7 separate regions of the Homo sapiens genome follow, and regions 2, 3, 4, 5, 6 and 7 are each linked to region 1. Evidence: promoter capture Hi-C in 16 types of primary human blood cells and fetal thymus (Javierre and others, 2016). All regions are on one chromosome and are shown on one strand. The core of a region is centred on a gene start or on the middle of the fragment in contact, and the rest is flanking DNA. Distances in the headings are between cores, read along the strand shown.

Region 1 (3,021 bases), core at 355-2,854:
ACAGCCCCAATTAAATTAAAATGGCTTTTATCCAAAAGACAGGTAATAACAAATGCTGACAAGGATGTGGAGAAAAAGTACCCTTGTACACTGTTGTTGGGAATATAAGTTAGTACAACCACTGTGGAGAATGGTTTGAAGGTTCCTCAAAAAACTAAAAATAGAGCTACCATATGATCCACAATCTCACTGGTAGGTATACACCTAAAAGAAAAGAAATCAGTATATTGAAGAGATATCTGTACTCCCATGTTTATTACAGCACTATTCACAATAGCCAAGGTTGGAAGCGACCTAAGCGTCTATCACCGATGAGTGGATAAAGAAAATGTGGTACATATACACAATGAAGTACTATTCAGCTAAAAAAGAATTAGATCCTGTCATTCACAATGACATGGATGGAATTGAAGATCATTATGTTACGTGAAATAAGCCAGGCACAGACAGACAAACTTTGCACGTTCTCACTTGCTTGTGAGAGGTAAAAATTAAAACAATTGAACTTGTGGGCATAGAGAGTAGAAGGATGGTTACCAGAGGCTGAAGGGTAGTGGGGGTTGGGGAAGAAGTGGGGATGGTTAATGGGTACAAAAAAATAGAAAGAATGAATAAGAACTAGTATTTGATAATACAACAGTGTGACTATAGTCAATAATAATTTAATTGCACATTTAAAAATAAAAATATAATTGCACTGTTTGTAACACAAAGGATAAATATTTGAGGTGATGGATATCCCATTTACCCTGTGTGATTATTACATATTGCATGCCTCTATCAACATATCTCATATACCCCATACAAATATATGCATACCCCATACATATATATATACATACACACACACACACACACACACACACACACACACACACACACACATATATGTATATCTACTATGTACCCACAGACGTTAAAAATTAGAGGAGAAAACACACACACAACAAGGAGACTGAGCTGGAAGGATGGAGCTCTGGGATAGATTTGTCCTACATCCCTGCCTGGGAGGGAATCCACACACATGCAAGAAGACAAACTAGGAGCATGGGCTACTAAATTATACCACATTGCACTCATCGGGGTCACAGGGTTTCTTCCAAGTGACCCGCACATGCCCTTCCCATCTCTGTGTGACAGTGGCACCTGCACCAGACTGCATGTTGAGGTGTCATCTGAAATTATGAAATAAAACAGAAGTAAGAGGTCTATTAGCTCATCAAAATGCAGTTATCTAAGTTCAGCTGTGAACTGCCAAATTTGAGGAGTGATCCAATGAAACATCTTTTCTTTGCAATCCAAGAAGACTTACCGGAGAGAACTGCTCAGAGAATCTGCAACATCCGGTTCCTGGAGACAGCTAAGGAAAGAAGCTGGGGCGCATGTTTCTGCCCAAAGCCGGGTTTTGGCCGAGGTGACTACACACCCCCTTTCCTGGCTCCCATAGGCTAAGTGCCTGGCTTCTTGAGAAGCCTGCTTCTTGAGAACAAAAAAGTGATTTAAAGCCTCATGGGAGATGAGCAATCCTCAAGACACAAGCAGAAAAAGTCCCAGTGATACAGGAAGCGGGTTCAGGAACCTGCTGGTTCCTGATACATAAATCAGACAGCCTCTGCTGCATGACACGAAGCTTGCTTCTGCCTGGCATCTGTGAGCAGCTGCCAGGCTCCGGCCAGGATCCCTTCCTTCTCCTCATTGGCTGATGGATCCCAAGGGGCTCCTCTCCTTGACCTTCGTGCTGTTTCTCTCCCTGGCTTTTGGGGCAAGCTACGGAACAGGTGAGTGTTCATCTGCCTGATGGTTTGAGTCCCATGTTAGCTGCCAGGAATCAGCGTATCTTCGTGGATGGAGAGAAGGTGCAGGGCTGGGTATTGTGTTTGGTCACTCTTCCTTAGGGACTGGCTGTCAGTTTCAACTGCCTCTTTCAAAGAGGAAGGAACATTATAAGTTCCTGGGCCCTTGGGTTTCCAAGACTCAGCCCCACCAACCCCAGTTTCCAAGGAAATGAGGGGCTCTAAGCCAAAGGCTCCAGTCACTTTTCTGACCAGTCTTAGGGTGACAGGCCCTGGTAGAAGTCTTGCTTGAGTGGTTGGTTTTACATGGGCATCTTCTGGCAAAGACCCAGCCTAGAGAGACTGAGCTGGATGGACTGAGCTCTGGGAGAAGATTTGCCCTACATCCCTGCCCTGGGAGGGAATCTGTGCACATGCAGGCTGACAAACCAGGAGCATGGGTCAACAGAAAGCATTGGCTAGAGTGGGAAGAGAGAGTAGAAGTGAAAACTCCAGGCTTTTGGCTGAGAACCAGCAGTGGCCACAGTGCGGTCATACTGGTGTGTATTTTCTTGGAAGAGAAGGTCCAAGAAAGCAAGAGGGAAGAAGTTGGGATTTCTGAAGGCTAGGGCTGGTTACAGTATGTGGGAAATGCAAATTGGGAACCCTCAGAGAGTAGCTCCAGCAGGAAGGCCAGACAAGAGCTACCTTTGGATCTGGACTCTGTTCCTGTCTTTCTGTCTATCTTCTTCCCAAGGCAGGCTATTGCTTTCTGTTTAGAAGTATCAGGGCTATGAGAAAAGGTATTTGAGAAAGAAAAAGCCAAGCAAGAAGTGGACTTTGGACTGCCTGTGTGAGTGGGGTGAGAATCTCCTTCTGCTTATTTGTTTAGACTGTGGGAGGTAGCCTGGAGTAGAAGAGGTGGCATTACGGACACGGGGGGAAATCCTGAGGCCCAGGGTGTTTTAAGCTTGGGGTTTTCAAGACCGCAAATCCAATATGGACTTTTCCAGGAAAAGCACCGTGATATGCCAGGGATGTGGGGGTGCTGCACAATGGATGTGTCTTTTACCAGACAGCCAGACGAACAGGGCTTGCTCAGCCCACTTTCTTTTGGAATCTGCAGATCCATGGCTCGTACTTCCCAAGGTCTAGGGGAGGAAGAACTGAGCTCGGGGCTCAGAAAACCAAATCGAGCCACTTTAAGTGGTCACAGGGAAAGCCAAGCCTCCGTTGTTGCAACCAATTT
Region 2 (3,021 bases), core at 343-2,842, 490 kb before region 1:
TCAAGAAAGAGAACAGATCTGCTTTACTCTAAACTGGTACTACCACTGACTTGTAAAAAAATATTTAGTAGGGACATGTGGCTATGATGTGTTGACCCAGAGAGAAAAAACAGAACCAATACATGGAAGTTACAAAGAGATTTATCTAAGGATAGTAAAAAGGCCTTTCTAATTACTGAGAATTACAGGGAGTTGAAAACTACAGTTAAGGACACAGTGGAAATGTGAGCCTGTGGATAGCTGAAGGGTTCCAGGTTACAGATTCCAGTGAAGGAAGAGGTAACTGTGGGAGTAGTGTTTTGATAAGTAGAAAAGGATGGGCATCAGGATAGAGCTGAAGGGGCCAGTCTTTGAAAGCTGGAGGGATGTTTTCTCAGCTGAGGAAGAGACAGGAACTAATGTAAAGGAAGAAACATAACAAGCAGAGGACTTCCGCAAGAGAATTCTACACAGGGTTCTCAATCTTCTCAGAGGAAGTTCCCCCAAGTTTTTAGTTGAATTAAGGAGAGGGTGGTTCATAAGGCAAGAGATGAAGTTTTTGTTTTAACTGTACAGATGATGTATAGTTTAAGCTAAGGAGGAACAGCAGTCTAGCTATAGCTAACAAAAAACTCTAAACTGTTTGAAATATTTTTTTCTCAGTGATGGACATGAGGGTGCCCATCTCTACACAGGAGGTCCCTTTGGCTTAGCTCAGGAAATCTGCACAGCTCTCTTTGTTGGCGTTACGATCTTAGGACTTCATGTTGAAAGAGTGAACTTCCAGGGCTCCCCAAGCAGAAAATATCCCTCCAAATAAACTGACTAGTTTAGGAACAGCTGGCCAGGCAACTGTCCCAATGTTTGGAATTTGGAAAATTTGGTCATTGAAGTCTGGCCCCAGGGAAAAGAACTGAGTTCTGTGAGTCCTGCAGGGGAAGACAGATTACTTTGGAAGGCCTAATGAAGGCAAATCTCAGCCCTTCCTTCACCTTTCCATTCTTTTTTTTTGAGACAGAGTTCAATTCTGTTGCCCAGGCTGGAGTACAGTGGCGTGATCTTGGCTTACTGCAACTTCCACCTCTCAGGTTCAAGCAATTCTCCTGCCTCAGACTCCCGAGTAGCTGGGATTACAAGTGCATGCCACCACACCCAGCTAATTTGTTTATTTTTTAGTAGAGATGGCGTTTCAACATGTTGGCCAGGCTGGTCTCGAACTCCTGACCTCAAGTGATCCTCCTGCCTCAGCCTCCCAAAGTGCTGGGATTACAGGCATGAGCCACCGTGCCTGGCTAAGCTTTCCATTCTCAGTGAAGAAAGTGATCTGTTCTCTTCCCCATTGGTTGCAATAAGCAGACTGGACATCATACTATGACTAGAAAAGGCAATCCTCAGCTTTCTCTAATCCTCTGAATGGAATTGGGTTAGGTTTGGAGAGGAGAGGTGGGTTCATGGAAAGGAATTACCATCATGGTGCCAAGACTACTGAGTGTCAAACCACTTCAGAATATGGATACGGAGGGAGAATATTATTCTCCTTTAAGAAGTAGTGCCTGTGTCTGTCTTTTTTGCGGGCTTATGTGGATTACATCTGCATTCCACACATCACAGCTACCTCTGTCCTGATGGCTATTCCTCTAGGAAAAGCTAAGGAGCAATCTACGAAGACAATGAATACATAAGGGAGATTGTTTACAAAAGAAAAGTGTTCCAGTGGGTATAGAGGAAAAAATGGTCAGAGGTGAGGTAGAAATTTTTTACTTTCCCCAATTAATGAACACCTTTTCCCTTCAACCTTCTACAGGCTGTTTATTCTTGCTCCTGTAGGAAGGCGTGGCAAGGTATCAGCTTTCTCTTTGCTACCCACTGCTACTTTTAGACCACTGTGCTTCCATCCTCTTGCAAAAATTCTTCTCCCTTTGAAGCTTATGCCATCTGGCTTTACTGCCCTTTAACACCTTTTTTTTTTCTTTTTCTTTTTGTAGTGCAGTGGCAATAATCATAGCTCACTGCAGCCTCAAACTCCTGGGCTCAAGTGATCCTCCAAACCCAGCCTTCAGCACCTATTAACCTCTTTTTGTGCCAACTCTTACTATCATCCTGGGAGGTTTTACAAAAACCCATGAAAAATACAGTTAGTTCCTGACCTCCAACTCCAACGAATACTCCCACTTTCAATTCCTTAATTTCACCATTTCTAGAAAAACAGGTTTTTGTTGATGGCAGCTTCAGGGCCATAGTAAGGACTGGGAGAGGGTAGCATTCTTCTTCTTTTTTTTTGAAACAGGGTCTCGCTATGTCACTCAGGTTGGAGTGCAATGGTGCCATCAGGACTCACTGCAACCTCAAACTCCTCAGTCTCAGGTGATCCTCCCACCTCAGCCTCCCAAATAGCTGGGACTACAGGCAAGTGCACACCCACCTAATTAAAAAAAAATTTTGTAGAAATGGGGTCTCTCACTATGTTGCCCAGGCTGATCTTGAACTCCTGGCCAAAGTATTGGGATTACAGGTGTGAGCCACCACACCCAGCCAGGGTATCATTATTAAGTGTAGTAAGATTGATGGTGCCAGCACTGGCTGGTGTTGACTTGAAGACTCACTGAAAGACTGGGACTGGCAGCCATGATGCATAAGGGCAGAATAGCCTGGGGGTTGTACTGCCCAGTGATACTTGGGGAAAGGTTCAAGATCTGGATTTGACTCTTGTGCCAAGCTTCCAAGAAACCTAGGTTCAGAGGTAAGAGCACCTTTCCTATCAGCTGCCTCTGTGGGGACATCTGACACTTTCAACATCCACCCCCTTGAAATACTCTTCCCTTTGATTCTGTGACAATTATCTCCCAGGTTTTCTTCTTCTTCACTCGCTGTTCCTTTTCAAAGATTCTCCAAGAGCTCTTTTTCTACTTGTGCCTTAAATGTTGGAATTTCCGAGAGCACTCTTCTTAGCCCTCTGCTCTTTTCTGGGGAGCTTATCCAAATCTATGGCTTCAACTACCACCGAAATGTTGATGTTTCAGAATTTCTGGCCTATATATCACA
Region 3 (3,021 bases), core at 372-2,871, 500 kb after region 1:
TTTGTCAGGTCCACGGAGTACTTGGTGCTCAGCTCTTCCAAGGTTAATTTGTGATCATCCTGAGGGGACAGTAGAGGCATTGAGGGACAGGGGGTGGCCCAGGTCATTTCCAGGGAGAGGGGGAGAAACAGACTGGAGAATGTTAGTCCAAACTGAGACTGCTCCATTTTGTAAGCTCCCTGCAATTCTTTTTTTGAGATGGAGTCACTCTGTTGCCCAGGCTGGTGTACAGTGGTGCGATTTCGACTCACTGCAACCTCTGCCTCCCAACAGGTGTTTCTCCTGCCTCAGCCTCCCAAGCAGCTGGGATTACAGGGGCCCATCACCAGGACCAGCTAATTTTTGTATTTTTAGAGGCGGGGTTTCACCATGTTGGCCAGGCTTGTCTCAAACTCCTGACCTCAGGTGATCTGCCTGCCTCAGCCTCCCAAAGTGCTGGGATTACAGGTGTGAGCCACCACGCCCGGCCTAGCTCCCCACTATTTTACAGGCCTTGGTCAAAGTGAAACATTTCACGGGGGTTCGGGCCAGAGAAACAGCCTGCCTAACCACCTGACCACAGGGCAGACGAAGGCCCAATTAAAGACAAAGACCCCACTAAAGAAACATCCCTATCACATCCTGCTGGGCAAAGGTCCAGGGAATACCATGATTATATTCTGTGGAAACAAGGGCCAAAAATCACCTCATCATGAGAACATCTTATCGATATCCTGCCAGGCAGCAGGCCATACAGCCCAGACTCCTCCCATCCATCCCTATAAGTACCCAGCCTGTAAGTGGCAGTGGACTGTGGAATTAAGCTGATCCCCCACTTCCACAGGTGTCTGCAATATACCTGTGCTTGCTGTTGAGCTGCCCTGTCTCTCTGTGTGTATCTTTTTTTTTTTTTTTAACCCTCTCCTTCCCTCCAAAGCCTAACAGAGAAGAGATGTGGCTCTGGCCTGTGTGTTTCATTCTCAAGGTAAGATGTTAAAGATAGGTGGAGGAGTGTTTTCAGAGGGCAGCTGTCAGCGCCCACTTTGGGTGGCCTCACCATGACCACTTCCTTCTTCAGTTCCTCCATATTGCGCTTCTGTTTTTCCCTCTTCACCATTTTTTTCTTGATAAGCCCTTTTTTAGGTCTTCGTCTTGGACTCTGGTCATGGGGAGCCACTGTCCCTTTCTTCCCCCAAAGCCCCATAGCTATCCCCAGAAAGAGCTGCCCGAGCTCAACTGTGGGAAGAAAGCTGAGAGAGTGAGGCAAGGGGAAGGGAAGAGGGCGCGCGGGCAAGGGGGCCACGAGAAGAGAGTGGTGGGGAGAGAATGAGGGAGCAGAAAGAAAGAGGCAGGGAGGGAGGTGTTGGGTGGTGAAGGTGAGAGAGAGGAAGGGAAGTGAGAGAGGAGAGACTGAGCGGTCCTCCAGCCGTCCGCTGGGAAGAGGAAGAGTCAGGAGTGAGGGAAGAGGGAGGAGAGAAGCCTAGGGTGGAAGGATAAAAAGGTAGAGGTGAGGGAATGCAGTGAGGGCAGGAAACAAGAGGTGAAGCGTAACCAGGTGCCTCAGTGATGAAGATGCCGCAAGGCCCACAGGAAGGTGGGAAATGCAGTGAGAGTGAGGAGGCGGAGTGAGCTTCAAGGATCTGGGAACCCCCCAGTCCCAGGCCCTGTGGTTGCTGGGGCAATGACCCAGGTCTGGCATCACAAAGGCCTCCTGAAAGTTCTAACCAAGAATCCAGAAGTCTTGCCTTGGCGATGGTCCAGGTCTGCTGTCGCAAAGGCCTCATGAAGGTTTTAACCAAGAACCTAGAAGTCTCAGTCTTTGGGTTTGAGGACGATTGGAGCAGGCCCTGCTACAGAAAGAGTTTCAGTCTGAGGGCAGAACTAGAACAAAGTTCTTGTGTGGTCCTGCAGACTTTGGAGGCTTAGAGGTATGCCAAATAGATGACTCAAAAATAAAGCGGGTATTCGGCCGGGCGCGGTGGCTCATGCCTGTAATCCCAGCACTTTGGGAGGCTGAGATCGAGACCTTCGTGGCCAGTATGGTGAAACCCCATCTCTACTAAAAATACAAAATTTAGCCAGGTGTGGTGGTGGGCACCTGTAATCCCAGCTGCTCGGGAGGCTGAGGCAGGAGAAACATCTGAATCCAGAAGGCAGAGGTTGCAGTGAATTGAGATTGCATCACTGCACTCCAGCCTCGGTGACAGAGTGACTCCATCTCAGACAAACAAACAAACAAACAAACAAACAAACAAACAAACAAAAAACCATAGCAGGGAGCTTACAAAATGGTGCAGTTGCAGTTTGGACTAATATTCTCCCGTCTGTTTTTGAGACTCCATCTCAAAAAAAAAAAAAAAGCAGGTACTCTGTGTGTGTTTTTTAGCAAGGCACACTTTTCCACTAACATTGGGTTTGATCTTTTAATTTTAGGAGATCAGCTAGCAGAATAGATCAGATCTTGGGCTCTGGAACCAGTCCTGGATTTCAATCCCAACTCCTCCACTTGTCAGCTGTGTGGCTTTGAGCAAGTTACCTAACCTCTGTACCTCTCTTTTCTTATTTTTAAAAGAGGATACCTTCTACCTTAAGTGAGGTGCTCTACAAAAAGCACTATGTGACATATATAGTATGTGCTCAATAGGTAGCTTGAATTCAGTAGTAGTTTTATTTGTGGATTAATATGCAGCTCTTCTCAGTGAGGGTAAAAATATGCTTTTCCATGTGATAGCGTTGCATTTTCTCATTTTAAAATGATGTACTTACCTCTTCCATTGACCTTCTCTGGTGTCTCAGTAAGTGCTTTGACTATATTAACTGTATATATGTTTTGCATGTCCATAGGATTCTACCTCCTTCCAAGAATAATCTGAAGCATCTATACTTTTCTGTCAACCATTATATATATTTTTCAATTATGCACGTCACATAGATTTTCCCATTCTGTTGTTTGATATTTGTTTATTTACTTTTTGAGACAGGATCTCACTTTGTTGCCCAGGCTGGAGTGTAATGGTGCGATTATGGCTTACTCCAGCCTCA
Region 4 (3,021 bases), core at 154-2,653, 450 kb before region 1:
TGTCTCTAGCTCTGGTCAGAGTTTCTCCACCAAACAGCACAGCAAAGGGCCCGACCACAGAACATGAGTGATGCCGTAGTCCATGGGGCCCCTTCTGGGACCCCTGCCCACTGCTCACAAGCCTTGCAAGCTGTTCCATCAAATGAGGAGCAACAGGTGGTTCCTCCTTGGGGAGAAAGAAAGGACTGTCCGAAGAGACCTGGGCATCACAATTTTAGCCTCTTCCCATCCTAAACAAGATGTGTGAGGAGCTAATACCTTAATTTTCCCATGACTCCAATGCCCAGCTACTTCTGGTTCAGCTAAGTTGCAACCTCCAAAGAGCAATAGCTGATGACCTGGATGGGGTCCAGGAGTTTGGAGCAGGGCCGCACAGTGACCTGAGCGTGAGGCTGTGTGGCAGCCTTCTTGCTTGTAGCTGTGGACATGCAGAAATTCAGGGCTGAGTGGGTTTTCTGGAAAATGTAAGTGCCACCGCCCTTGCCAAGGATGGATGGAGAAGAGGCATGGGGCAGTGCGGTAGGTGGGATAAGAGGGAGGGTAATACTGTAGAGAGCTCAGCTAGCTTAAACATGGTAGGTTCCCCTGGAAGGAGGGTGCTAGAGTGAGGAGGTGGATAAATTGCCTGAGAAATCTGCTTAGGCTTTTGTTTTTCGAGAGTGTGGATGAGAGTGAAAGGTTTTGGGCGGAGGGTGCCATACCAATAGGTGCGGGCGCTGGGGTCCAGCCTTAATGTGTAGATGCTTCCATAGCGTCGCTGAGTGTGGATACCGCCCTCCCGGCCAGCCACCTGCAGCTCTCGGTCAGAGATTCGGGTGCAGGTGTGACTACTGAGGCCGGCGGGGGGGCAGTCACCAGGGGTCCCTGTCCACGCCTCCCACACACCGCGCTCTGTGTCCAGTGCGGTCACTGTGGCCAAGCGGCGAGACCCGTCCCAGCCGCCCACCACGCAGAGCCAACGCCCGTCCACGGGTGCCGCGTCGTGGTGACTGCGCGGGGGGCTGCCCCGGGCTCCCAATCGTACGGCCTGGCCCCTAGCTGGGTCGAAAACCACCGTATCGCTGCTGGGCTCTCTCGCTCCTCCTGCTAGGAGACCACCTACGAGATAGAACCGTCCCCGCAGTTCGGTGCATGAATGGAAAGCTCTAGCCAAAAGCGCGTCCCGCGCCACTGGCCTCCAGGCCCAGCCTGAGCCTGCGGCCCGACCCGGGGGCACGGCCACCGCCATGGGCCCCGGGGAGAGGGAGGGCGGTGGGGTCTGCGGCTTGGAACGAGCCCCTACATGGCAGGCCAGGCACCTCGCCTTCCGCGGGCTTCCCCGGGAACCTCCCCCTACCGGACGCCAGCCGGGGTTCCCACCTCAAGTCCCGGCTTTCTCTCCGTGGTCGCCCAGCAACCACTGCAGCGGCTGCAGCGCGACCGCTGCAAACCGAAGGTCGCAAAGCAGCAGTTACCGTGGAGACAGGACACCTGGGTGGCTATCGGGAACCGTATGGTGGTGCCACCAAGGCTACGGGAGCTGTATCAGGTCAATAAAAATCCTGCAAGATTGTTAACCTCAGAAAGTCGGAGGACAGTCGGGTCCTTAGAATAAACCCCTGTGATCTCCGCTGTGAACTGATTTGCGATTTTGACATTTGAGGTGCAGGTGCTGCTCCACTAGGGCCGGGAGGGATCATTTGGCTTCAGGGTTTCTTACTCGGGCTAACCACCCCAGGGATGAGCAAGGAAGGAGAAGCAAAAGTCAGAGGGTGGGGAAGTGAAAGTGGACTGACCACTGGCCCGAGAGACAGGAGACCTGGGTTCTAGTCCCAACTATGCCCCTGACCCTCAAAGGCATTGTTTCTCTCTAGGCCTTCTCAGTTTTGTCATTCATCAAATAGGCTGTTCGTTTATTCCCAAAGGCTTGAAGGTCCCGATTGATTGGGTGGGAGAGTCCTTTCAGCTCTGGCCACTAGAGGGTAGCAGAACCCAGTCTCTCAGGTGACACACACACACACACACACACACACACACACACACACACAGAGAGAGAGAGAGAGAGAGAGAGAGAGAGAGAGAGAGAGAGAGAGAGATAGAGAGAGAGAGAGAACCCACGCAGCCTTAGAAGGGTGAAGTGGGGGAAGAGTGAGAAAATGAGAAAAACAGACTCCTACCCTTCCCTGATATCTTTTATTTAAGCCAGTTTCCAGATATTAACTCTGTCCCCCAGGACCAAGTGATAACTGAAGAGGCCCAGATGCAAGCTTTCTGCTTTCAGCTGAAGGAGGAAATACAGACAGAATTTTCCTCCCAACACAGCTGGTGTGGGGCAAAAACAGGATCTGTGTCCTCTGGGACTGGGCTGTAAGTGGGAATGATGACTGCTACTTGTGGCCTTTGGTTTCTACACATCACCTTGCTCCCCATCATACCTGAGATACTGAGACCATAGAAAGTGGCCAGGCAGGAGAATCACTTGAGGCCAGGAGTTCAGGAGTTCAAGACCAGCCTGGGTAACATAGTGAGACCCTGGCGAAAGAAAGAAAGAAAAAAAGAAAAGAAATAAAGAAAGGAAGAAAGGAGACAGTGGCCAGGGCTGCAGTGAGGATGGGCATGTAATGCAGGGTCTGATAGCACAGCAGGGCTTTCCCCTCCTCTTCCCAACTCTTGGTCCTCAGAGAACACAGCATGGGGATGGCATGGGCAGGAAAGGCACAGTTACAGAGATTGGAAGATTACCAGGACCTGTTCCCCACCTGTACCTTAAAGCCAAGATTCAACAATAGCTTTGAAAGTCTCTGCCCTCCCAACTATAGCTTTCCCTGAGTATGACAGGCAGTATTCTCAGTTTTCCAAAATCATGGTAAGAATCTCTAAAAAATCACTAACTTTTACTGTCCTTGGCTGAAATTTAAAAGTCAGTCTTTTCCCTCAGGCTTCTTTCTCACTGGCTAACCTCCCAACAGCTGGATTCAGATCTGTCATACTCCTAGGATTAGGCAAGGGCTTGCCTCAGGGGTGGGGCAATTTTGCTTAAAC
Region 5 (3,021 bases), core at 337-2,836, 440 kb after region 1:
CGGAGCCCCGGCTGCCAGGAAGTCAGTCCTCTTCCCTCCCAGCTTTCTGTGCTAGGCTCACCGCTTCCTCACACCTTCCTTCCTTCCTGCCTCCCTCTCCTTCCAAGCTGGCCCCAGGCACAGCCCTGACAAAGGTCAAACCAACTGAGGATGCTGGGGAAGAGGGGCAGGAGGTAAGGACCATTATATACTGACCTTTTAGGGTGGGACAGGTGGGAGCTCCATGGGCACTGGGGTAAGAAGAGCCAGGCCCTGGGAGTGCTTTGAGAAGCCTGGCAATTGGGATAACCACCTGTGGAGGAGGTGGCAGCACCAAAAGAATTTCTGTGCATTTTGACATTAAGTCGTGGTAGATTATCCCTTCTAACGTTTGGTTCCAAATCCTCTGTAAATTCGAGAAGGAAGCCTGAAGATTAAGAGTTGCTGCCCGTCCCTCTTCCACATCTGTTGCAGCTGCCTAAGCCTGAGGGGAGGGGCCATCCCAGACAGCTGCAAGGACCTAGAGGTCCCTGTATTGGGCAGGAGGGGACTCCCAGGCACTCAAGTCTGTCAGTCTTCTGCCTGAAGTTGGAAGTAATCACGGAGAGGCAGAGGGGTTGGAAGGGAGAGAGTAGGGGTCCAGCTTTCCTATTTTAAATTATAACTGGGCCCCAAATTCAAGCAGTCCTGTAGTTTATTTCCTTTAATATCATTCTCAATTAATTTCTTCTTTAAGCTTTTTATCCAGCTTTGTGGGGGAGGAGGGGGTTGTCTTTACTCCTGTAACAAGGAAATTGAGGGTTCTGAGGCTCCAGGGTCAGCCTGGAAGTGACGAGAGGCAGGACATCTGGGCCCTAAAATGTTCACTTCAGTCCAAGAAGCAAAATGGATTACCTTTGGGCATGGGGACAAGGATTAGCCTTCAGCCCTTGGTCTAGAAAGAGCCAGACCCAAGATGGGGCATCAGGAGATAGCTGGCACTGGATCAGGCAGAGCAGAGGAGGGCCGGCTGATGGCGAGGAGGGGAATGGGGCCTAGGACTCTCCCCAGCCCATCTCTGTTTCCACTCTTCTGGTGTGGCACTCCCTGCTTCTATTTCTGTCTCTCTCCATCTCTCTCACTCTTTGTCATGCATTTCCTTTCTACTTCATCTTTCAGTCTCTCTTTTCCTCCTTTCTATAGGCTTTCACCCCTTCTAGCATTTCCTACTCACCTATCCAACTTAGTGGTAGCCATGAATACTTAGGACTCCTGAGATCTGTGCTTCACTGTCCCCATCTGAATATTCGGAGCTGCAATTAGGAAGGGGTGAGCATCCCTGCTACAAAAGACAGAGTAAGTTTGGTCGGAGTGGCTTGGAGATTCAGTGGTTGGCTGCCTACCAGCTGGTGAAGATATCCATCATGACATTGTGCGTGAGGATCTGTGTGAGAGAGTGAGGCGCTCTGTGATTCTGTGACCCTCTTCATGCATGATAATACATCCACACATGATGGGCACGGAATTGAGGAAGTAGGCAACCAGGGAAGCCTGCAGCCTAGGGCATCACTGGCAATTTCCCCAATGGAGTATTTAACCACAAAGGGAAGAGCAATTAAAGCTAATCGCTCTGACAGCCTGGGGCCCAGACACACGTACCACTTTCCCTAACTCCCAGTGGTCTCCCCCAACCTTCATCCTCCCTAATTTGTTTAGTGCACTCTCAAACACTGTTTGCACTTCTCTGACCATCTCTTTCTCTCACTTCCTCCCTCTCCCTGGTTCCCTGACTATCTCTAGACCTCTCTGGAGATGTCTGTCTGCTTCTCACACACATTCCTCTCATTCTCTCTCTGACTTGGGTTCCATTCTTGGCTGACTCATACCCATTCTTTTTCCTCTCCGTTTCTTCCACCCCCTCCTCCTCCATCCCTTGGCCACTCTTACCCAGAAACTAGCCACTCCCAGCACGCTAAGCCCTAACTGGACCCAGGAAGAGAAGCCACCAGAAGCCCCTACCCTCATTAGTCCGCAAAATCCTGTCTCCTTGTGTTAGAGGAATGAGACCAAGATTTTCTCCCATCTTTCCCCACAGTTTTAAAGAGGAACAATCTGAAACCATGGGGCTGGGAAAAGCTGCCAGAAAATCAGGATGGATTTGGGGACAGTGGCCCTTTCTGTCCACTCAGCTGTCCTGTCGGACTGATGACTTGGAGCCCGCAGTTCAGAAGACTCCTCATGGGATGCCCCACCCCACAGAGTGGGGGTGTGGTGGGCGGCCGGATGCGTAGTCCAGGGACGTTTGTGATTTGGAGTGTGCTAGACTATGTGTATAAGTCACATGGGTGTGTGTCACTGTGTGTGCTGGCGTGCCTTATAGGTGTGCGTGTTTCCCTGTCAGTTTTGACACGGATTATATGAAATTAATAAGGGTTTTTACGTTAGATATACATCACTTCTCTACACCCCCAGCTCCTCCTTCCCTCTGGACAAGCTTTCCGCCAAGCCCACCTCTTCCCCAGGTGCAGTGAGCTGGGGGTGAGGGCACATGGTACCAGCCGCCCGCGGAACCGAGACAGGGCTGGGCCGGGAGACCGCCAGCGGAGGCGAGTCCGAAGCCTGAGCGGGGAGGGAGGGGCGGGCGCTGGCCTGGCCGAGCCGGCTGGGCGGGAAGCAGGCTGCATCCTAATCCACAGGCCCCGGTCCGACTCCCAAACTGCCGTTCAGCGTGGAACGGGCTGGCCGGAGCCACGCCGCCTCCAGCACACGCTCGGCGCTCGGGACGCACCGACCGAGGGACGGACCCCGTGAGGCCTGACACAAAGTGGACTCGTCCGGGGTCCCCACACTCCCCGTCTGGCCCCCGGTGTCCCAGATCGTTGCCCCTCCAAGCCTAGACCCCGAAATCTGCCCCTTCCCCGCGACATGTCTCCTCTCCGCCCCTCTCACCGCCTCTGGAGCTGAGCGCTCAGGGCGCGGGCACTCCTGAGTCCCCGGTTCCTAAGCAGCGTCCGGAACCTCCTCCTCGGCTCCCGCCGCCGCCGCCGCCGCTTCTGCCGCCGC
Region 6 (3,021 bases), core at 522-3,021, 390 kb before region 1:
TGGCACTGGTGAGATATTGCATGAGGATGCTGGCTGAAAGGGCTAGAATAGGCTGTGGGACATGACTGGTAGGCAGTGAGCCTTCACTCATGACTCTTAGTGATCATTAAGACCTGGACAGGCAGTGAGTCTGGGGCTGCTCTTCTATTAGCATGTTCTTTTTAGAGGAGGGGACCAGGGTCTTCACCTCAGGGCTTGGTGAGGTTCCTACCCATGTCCTGACAGAACCTACCCTGCATCTTCACAGGTCAATTCTTTGTGATGATGTCACCACAAGAAGTACTGCAGGGAGGAAGCCAGCGCTCAATTGCCCCTAGGACTCACCCTTATTCCCCGTGAGTGACCCTTGTTTCTTCTCAGATTCCGTAAGTGGTTTTTTTTTTTTTTTTTTTTTTTTGAGACAGAGTCTTGCTCTGTCACCCAGGCTGGAGTGCAGTGGCATGATCTCAGCTCACTGCAACCTCTGCTTCCAGGGTTCAAGCGTTTCTCATGCCTCAGCCTCCTGAGTAGCTGGAACTACAGACATGTACCACCACCCCTGGCTAATTTTTGTATCTTTAGTAGAGACAGGGTTTCACCATGTTGGCCAGGCTGGTCTCGAACTCCTGACCTCAAGTGATCCGCCTGCCTCGGCCTCCCAAAGTGCTGGGATTACAGGTGTGAGACACCACACCTAGCTACCATAAGTGGTCCTAATACCTGCTAAATCTTGTATAATTCCTTAACCCCAAACTTCAATCATGTATTTTGTCTTCTTACTCTGGCCACCCTGGGCTCTGTTGTCAGGAAGTCAGAAGCTCCCCGGACGACTCGGGATGAGAAACGCAGGGCTCAGCATAATGAAGGTAGGTATGATCTGGGTGGAGCTAGAAGCTGTCTGGTGTGATCTCAGCAGTGATGTCTGAGGGGAGGAGGGATTAGGTAATTTTACCCTGGGACTTGTGGCGAGTTTTCACTGAGTCACCTTGTCCTCCACTTTGCCCCACAGTGGAGCGTCGCCGCCGAGACAAGATCAACAACTGGATCGTGCAGCTCTCCAAGATAATCCCAGACTGCTCTATGGAGAGCACCAAGTCTGGCCAGGTCATGGAAAGACCCTGGTAGTGGGCAGGATGCCTGAATTCTGCCTCCTGGTATTGTTTCCAGAAATGGTAGAGAGAGGGGCACACATGACAGTAGTCTTATCTCTCCCTGAGGTTCCTGTATCCCTGGGAGATATTATACCACCTTCCTTAGATGAAAATGAGGTCCAAAGTGTGAACCTACTTTTGGAAAGCAAGCTGGGTATCTGAAATCCTAGTTCTCATTTTGTTGACCTTATCTTGCAGAGTAAAGGTGGGATTCTATCCAAAGCTTGTGATTATATCCAGGAGCTTCGGCAGAGTAACCACCGCTTGTCTGAAGAACTGCAGGGACTTGACCAACTGCAGCTGGACAATGACGTGCTTCGACAACAGGTCAGACTCCTACCCCCAGTGCAGCCCTTCTCAGTTCTGCTAGCCACTGACCCAGTTTGACACCCTCTACTTTGTTCTCCATGGAGAAGGCTTCATCTTTTCCCCCTCACCAGTGGATGTCTGAATACATTCAGGGGCTTGGAAGTGCCAGCTTTACTACCCATTCCCTTTACTGCCTCCTTCCCATGTCAGGTGGAAGATCTTAAAAACAAGAATCTGCTGCTTCGAGCTCAGTTGCGGCACCACGGATTAGAGGTCGTCATCAAGAATGACAGCAACTAACTATGGGGATTCAGGGGCTTTGGGCCCAAGAACTGCAGATAGCCCAGGAGCAACAGCCTAATCCCGTGCCCCTTTCCTTCACTGCCCCACTTCTGGCATGGGACAGGGGGAAGTTCAGAAGGTGTGTCCTTGAACTGAGGCCCTGTGATATGGCGGCCTGCAGTGGTGTGAAACACACAATGTGGACGTGCACTGACAGCCTTGCCCACCCCCACCATGCAGCCCCTGGGCCCTTGTGCTCCTCTCGCACAATGCATGTGCTGTCTCCATGCTGGATACTGGACACACTAAACTCTGGGGCTTGTCCTGTGCTTGCTTAGAGTGCCCAGCAGAGGTTTGCTGACAGGTGATGCTCTGGCTTGCCCCAGGACTCTGGCACTTCCATTGGTTCTTCCTTTCCCTGGAGCTGAGGTTTAGATGTGCAACCTGTGGCTCAGGGGAGCAAGCTTACACAAGAAGTGAGGGAAGGATGTTTAGCAGTGGCTGGTGCCCATGAAGAGGAGATTGGCCAGTGAGAAGCTGAGGCCTATGCAGACATCTCTGGAGCCAGAGAGAACAACAGGCAGGGGCCCACTTGGGGCCTTCCCCCTTGTGGGGGTCGTTTTTTTTTTTTCTTTTCTTTTTTTTTTTTTTTTTTTTTTTTTTTTAAGATAAAATTGTTCAAAGCCACAGTTGTCTGTTTTTCTTCCTTTTGTGGGCCACGGGCTGGAAGGGAGGGGCACATTGCTCTTCGACCAGTAAGGGCTGTGCCAAGTTCAGGGTGGGGTGCTGCTCCTGCATTTATTACCCGGAGTCCTGGTTCCTGGGCCAGACCGGTGTGTCGTTTTTGGCCCAAGCTAGAGAATGTTAAGGGCTTCTGCGGTGGGTTGGTGCTAGAGGCGCCGCGAACAGGTGCTGCGGGGGCGGCGCGGGAGGCGGTGCCCTTGCTTCCGGATCCGGTCTCAGCTCTGGGAGGGAACGGGAGATGTTGCAGGCGCCGAGAGGGCGGGCCAGGGCCGCACTCCGGAGACTCGCGGTTGCTACGCGCACCATGGCTGGAGGTACCTGCGGGGGATTCCTGGGGCCGCGGTTCTCTTGGTCCTCTGGGTTGAGGCGTGGCAGGGAGTGGGGTGGCGGAGCGAAGGGGCGTGGCTGAGGGGTCTTCGTGCACACCCTACCGGGAGGGGCGCTGCCAGGTGAGGGGATGCCATGGCGGCCGTGACTCCTAGGCCCCCTCTTCCTGAAGGCTGTCGCGCCCCTTCCTCAGCGCCCACGGTCTCGCTTCCTGAACTCCGTTCACTCC
Region 7 (3,021 bases), core at 150-2,649, 360 kb before region 1:
TGTGAGATACGTCTATATTTCCTACAAAATATACTTTTTTTTTTTTTTTGAGGTGGAATCTCGCTCTGTCACCCAGGTTGGAGTGCAGTGGCACAATCTCAGCTCACTGCAACCTCCACTTCCTGGGCTCCAGCAATTCTCTGCCTCAGCCTCCCAAGTAGCTGGGATTACAGGTGCCCACCACTACGCCTGGCTAATTTTTTTGTATTTTTAGTAGAGATGGGGTTTCACCATCTTGGCCAGGCTGGTCCTGAACTCCTGACCACCTGTCTCGGCCTCTCAGTGTTGAGATTACAGGTGTGAGCCACCGCGCCTGGCCCAAAATATACTTTAAGGTCCTTTCTACATTATTCCTAAAGTATGGCTATATCATAATTTACTTATTCACCTTTTGTTGGGCATTTAGATTTCTTTTTTTTCTTTGTTATACTAAATAACATTAAATTGGCTGGGCATGGTGGTTCATGCCTGTAATCCCAGCACTTTGGGAGGCTGGGGCGGACGGATCACTTGAGGCCAGGAGTTTGAGACCAGCCTGGCCAATGTGGTGAAACCCCGTGTCTATCAAAAGTACAAAAATTAGCTGGGTATGGTGGTGTGTGCCTGTAATCCCAGCTACTGGAGAGGCTGAGGCAGGAGAATCTCTTGAACCTGGGAGGTGGAAGTTGCCATGAGCCACAATCGCGCCACTGCACTCCAGCCTGGGCGACAGAGCAAGACTCAGTTTCCAAAAAAAACGAACAATGAAACCTAAATAACGTTAAATTGTTCTTGTACATGAATTTTTTTTTTTTTTTTTTTTTTTAAGATGGAGTCCCACTCTATCGCCCAGACTGGAGTGCAGTGGCGTAATCTCAGCTCACTGCAACCTCCACCTCCCAGGTTCAAGCCTCAGCCTACCAAGTAGCTGGGATTCAGGTGCCTGCCACCACGCCCAGCTAATTTTTATATTTTTGGTACAGATGGGGTTTCACCATTTTGGTCAGGTTGGTCTCAAACTCCTGGCCTCAAGTGATCCGTCCGCCTCAGCCTCCCGAAGTGCTGGGATTACAGGCGTGAGCCACTGCACCCAGCCAAAATATTTAAACTTATCTTTGATTGCTTTCTTAGGCTATATTCCTAGAAATTGGGGTGAGATTAATTTTGACTGAGGAAAGGTATAAGAGATCAATAGACATTTGAACAGGATCTTGAAAGATACATGGGATTTCCTTGCTTGTCCAATAAAGCTACATATAGCATAATAGTTTTAGAGCCTCAAAATCAGGCAGAGTTAAGATTCCTACCTTGCTATTTGTAGCCATATGGTTTGGATCAACTGTTTTTTTTTTTTTTTTGATGGAGTCTCGCTCTGTCACCCAGGCTGGAGTGCAGTGGCTTAATCTCAGCTCAATGCAACCTCCCCCTCTCGGCTTCAAGCAATTCTCCTGCCTTAGCCTCCTGAGTCGCTGGGATTACAGGCGCCTGCCACCATGCCCAGCTAATTTTTGTATTTTTAGTAGAGACGGGGTTTCACCACGTTGGCCAGGCTAGTCTCGAACTCCTGACCTTGTGATCCGCTTGCTTCGGACTCTCAAAGTTCTGGGATTACACGTGTGAGCCACTATGCCTGGCCTGGGTCAACTGTTCTAAGCCTCAGTTTTTTCATCTGTAAAATGAAATGGTAACGGTAGTACTTCAATCTTCAATGGTACTTGTCTCATAGGTTTTTTTTTTTTTTAAGAGTTTAGTGAGAAAATGCATATAAGGCCTAACATTAATAATATGCCACTTCTACCATTATGCCATTGTCAATCATAAGACCCTCCCAGATTCATGGGGAGGAAACTTTTTTTTTGAGACAGAGTCTTGCTCTGTCATCCAGACTAAGTACAGTGGCACCATATCAGCTCACTGCAGCCTCCACCTCCTGGGCTCAAGTGGTTCTCCAGCCTCCCAAGTAGCTGGGACTACAGGTATGCACCATGCCTGGCTAATTTTTGTAATTTTTATCATGTTGGCCCGGCTGGTCTTAAACTTCTGACCTCAAGCAATCCACCCACATCGGCCTCCCAAAGTGCTGGGATTATAGGCGTGAGCCACCGCACCCGGCCCATGGGGAGGAAACTTAACTTAGACTCCACCTCAGTCACAATGTAAGTAGAGCATGGGGGAGGAGATAAATATATAGATAGATGTGGCTGTTTTGGAAAATACTATTTGCCACAGTTGTTTCATTATTATTATTCAGGTACGTAGTAATTTCCAGGAATTACATCCTCAGTGTTATAGGCGTTCATGGGCGTGCATGACTGCAGCTGATTAATTTTTTTTTTTTTTTGGTACAGATGGGGGTCTCACTGTGTTGCCCAGGCTGAGAAAACATTTATTGAATGTCAACTTGTACCAGTTTTATTATGCTAAGTGTGGGATACTCAGAATATTAAATAACACATGGTCCCTTTTCACTTGGGGTTTACCATGGGAGACATGCTTGTACACAGATGATGTCATTATAATGTGGGAATTGCTTTGACAGTGTTTTGCATGGGATAATTAAAGCCTAGGAAAGAGGCTTAGGTGAGGCTATGGTGAGGACTGGGCATGTGGGAGGTCGTTTTCCAGAAAATAATGTGGATGAATACTGCTGCCCAGATAAAGAGGGGGAAAAGGGTGTTCTACATAGCAGAAATAGCATGAGCAAAGGCAGAGATTGTGAAACAGCCCAGACTTTGCTAGGAATTTTAAGTAGTTTTGTATTGCTAGAGGGTAAATTGCAACAGTAGAGTGGGTGATGAAGATGATAACCTTATCAAGGGGTCAGATAGTGCTGGAACTTTCTTCCAGCACTTCCTGGTGGGAGAGAGGGAGGTGGGCGTTTGGCAGAGTATAGGGATTATTGGAACTTTCTTAGCTTGCAGAAAAATTTGGATTTTATCATATAAGCAATGTAGAATCATCAAAAGCTTAAAGGAGGTATCAGATTTGCATTTTTAGGAAGGCTGTATAGTATAGTGTAGCATTGTATAGCCTCTGCAGTTG

The links. Contacts are between HindIII fragments. The CHiCAGO score rates a contact against its expected background, and 5 or more counts as called.
Region 2: a contact is called between a fragment that was not itself captured here and the fragment with the promoter of SLAMF1 in region 1, in 2 of 17 cell types (fetal thymus and activated CD4 T cells). The highest score is 7.3, in fetal thymus.
Region 3: the fragment with the promoter of ATP1A4 here is called in contact with the fragment with the promoter of SLAMF1 in region 1 in 7 of 17 cell types (M2 macrophages, erythroblasts, M0 macrophages and 4 more); the score reaches 11.2 in M2 macrophages.
Region 4: a contact is called between the fragment with the promoter of KLHDC9 here and the fragment with the promoter of SLAMF1 in region 1, in 1 of 17 cell types (non-activated CD4 T cells). The highest score is 5.4, in non-activated CD4 T cells.
Region 5: a fragment that was not itself captured here is called in contact with the fragment with the promoter of SLAMF1 in region 1 in 2 of 17 cell types (fetal thymus and total B cells); the score reaches 5.6 in fetal thymus.
Region 6: a contact is called between a fragment that was not itself captured here and the fragment with the promoter of SLAMF1 in region 1, in 4 of 17 cell types (fetal thymus, non-activated CD4 T cells, activated CD4 T cells and 1 more). The highest score is 8.0, in fetal thymus.
Region 7: a fragment that was not itself captured here is called in contact with the fragment with the promoter of SLAMF1 in region 1 in 6 of 17 cell types (non-activated CD4 T cells, total CD8 T cells, total B cells and 3 more); the score reaches 7.9 in non-activated CD4 T cells.

The regions. Positions count from the first base shown.
Region 1 is chr1:160,645,627-160,648,647 of GRCh38, reverse strand. SLAMF1 (signaling lymphocytic activation molecule family member 1) reads left to right here and starts at 1,604. Exons shown (of 7, transcript NM_003037.5): 1 at 1,604-1,778. The coding sequence starts at 1,703. LOC107985220 (a long non-coding RNA gene) reads right to left here and starts at 1,639. Exons shown (of 2, transcript XR_001738266.2): 1 at 1,313-1,639; 2 at 1-1,175. RefSeq lists enhancers at 1,473-1,522, 1,563-1,772. The HindIII fragment of the contact is 11,196 bases long and covers 1-1,632 here.
Region 2 is chr1:161,135,912-161,138,932 of GRCh38, reverse strand. It overlaps LOC112543491 (linc-UFC1), which reads right to left. Exons shown (of 1, transcript NR_156734.1): 1 at 991-3,021. Among named protein-coding and RNA genes, the nearest start is that of DEDD, 4.8 kb to the right of the region's middle. The HindIII fragment of the contact is 628 bases long and covers 1,279-1,906 here.
Region 3 is chr1:160,150,203-160,153,223 of GRCh38, reverse strand. ATP1A4 (ATPase Na+/K+ transporting subunit alpha 4) reads right to left here and starts at 1,621. Exons shown (of 22, transcript NM_144699.4): 1 at 1,037-1,621; 2 at 1-59. The coding sequence starts at 1,183. The HindIII fragment of the contact is 4,407 bases long and covers 1-3,021 here.
Region 4 is chr1:161,096,743-161,099,763 of GRCh38, reverse strand. KLHDC9 (kelch domain containing 9) reads right to left here and starts at 1,403. Exons shown (of 4, transcript NM_152366.5): 1 at 702-1,403; 2 at 259-418; 3 at 1-166. The coding sequence starts at 1,228. RefSeq lists silencers at 980-1,029, 1,090-1,269. The HindIII fragment of the contact is 8,697 bases long and covers 1-2,248 here.
Region 5 is chr1:160,205,409-160,208,429 of GRCh38, reverse strand. PEA15 (proliferation and apoptosis adaptor protein 15) reads right to left here. Exons shown (of 4, transcript NM_003768.5): 1 at 2,908-3,021. It overlaps PEA15-AS1 (PEA15 antisense RNA 1), which reads left to right. Exons shown (of 5, transcript NR_123725.1): 2 at 43-173; 3 at 2,054-3,021. Among named protein-coding and RNA genes, the nearest start is that of PEA15, 1.5 kb to the right of the region's middle. RefSeq lists a silencer at 2,931-3,021. The HindIII fragment of the contact is 1,737 bases long and covers 718-2,454 here.
Region 6 is chr1:161,038,638-161,041,658 of GRCh38, reverse strand. It overlaps TSTD1 (thiosulfate sulfurtransferase like domain containing 1), which reads left to right and starts at 2,695. Exons shown (of 4, transcript NM_001113207.2): 1 at 2,695-2,779; 2 at 2,986-3,021. The coding sequence starts at 2,770. USF1 (upstream transcription factor 1) reads left to right here. Exons shown (of 11, transcript NM_007122.5): 6 at 1-8; 7 at 248-335; 8 at 787-845; 9 at 989-1,083; 10 at 1,329-1,457; 11 at 1,650-2,408. The coding sequence ends at 1,739. RefSeq lists an enhancer at 2,717-2,766. The HindIII fragment of the contact is 832 bases long and covers 1,356-2,187 here.
Region 7 is chr1:161,008,758-161,011,778 of GRCh38, reverse strand. The region is part of intron 1 of F11R (F11 receptor); the gene reads left to right. Among named protein-coding and RNA genes, the nearest start is that of F11R, 11 kb to the left of the region's middle. The HindIII fragment of the contact is 3,097 bases long and covers 1-2,947 here.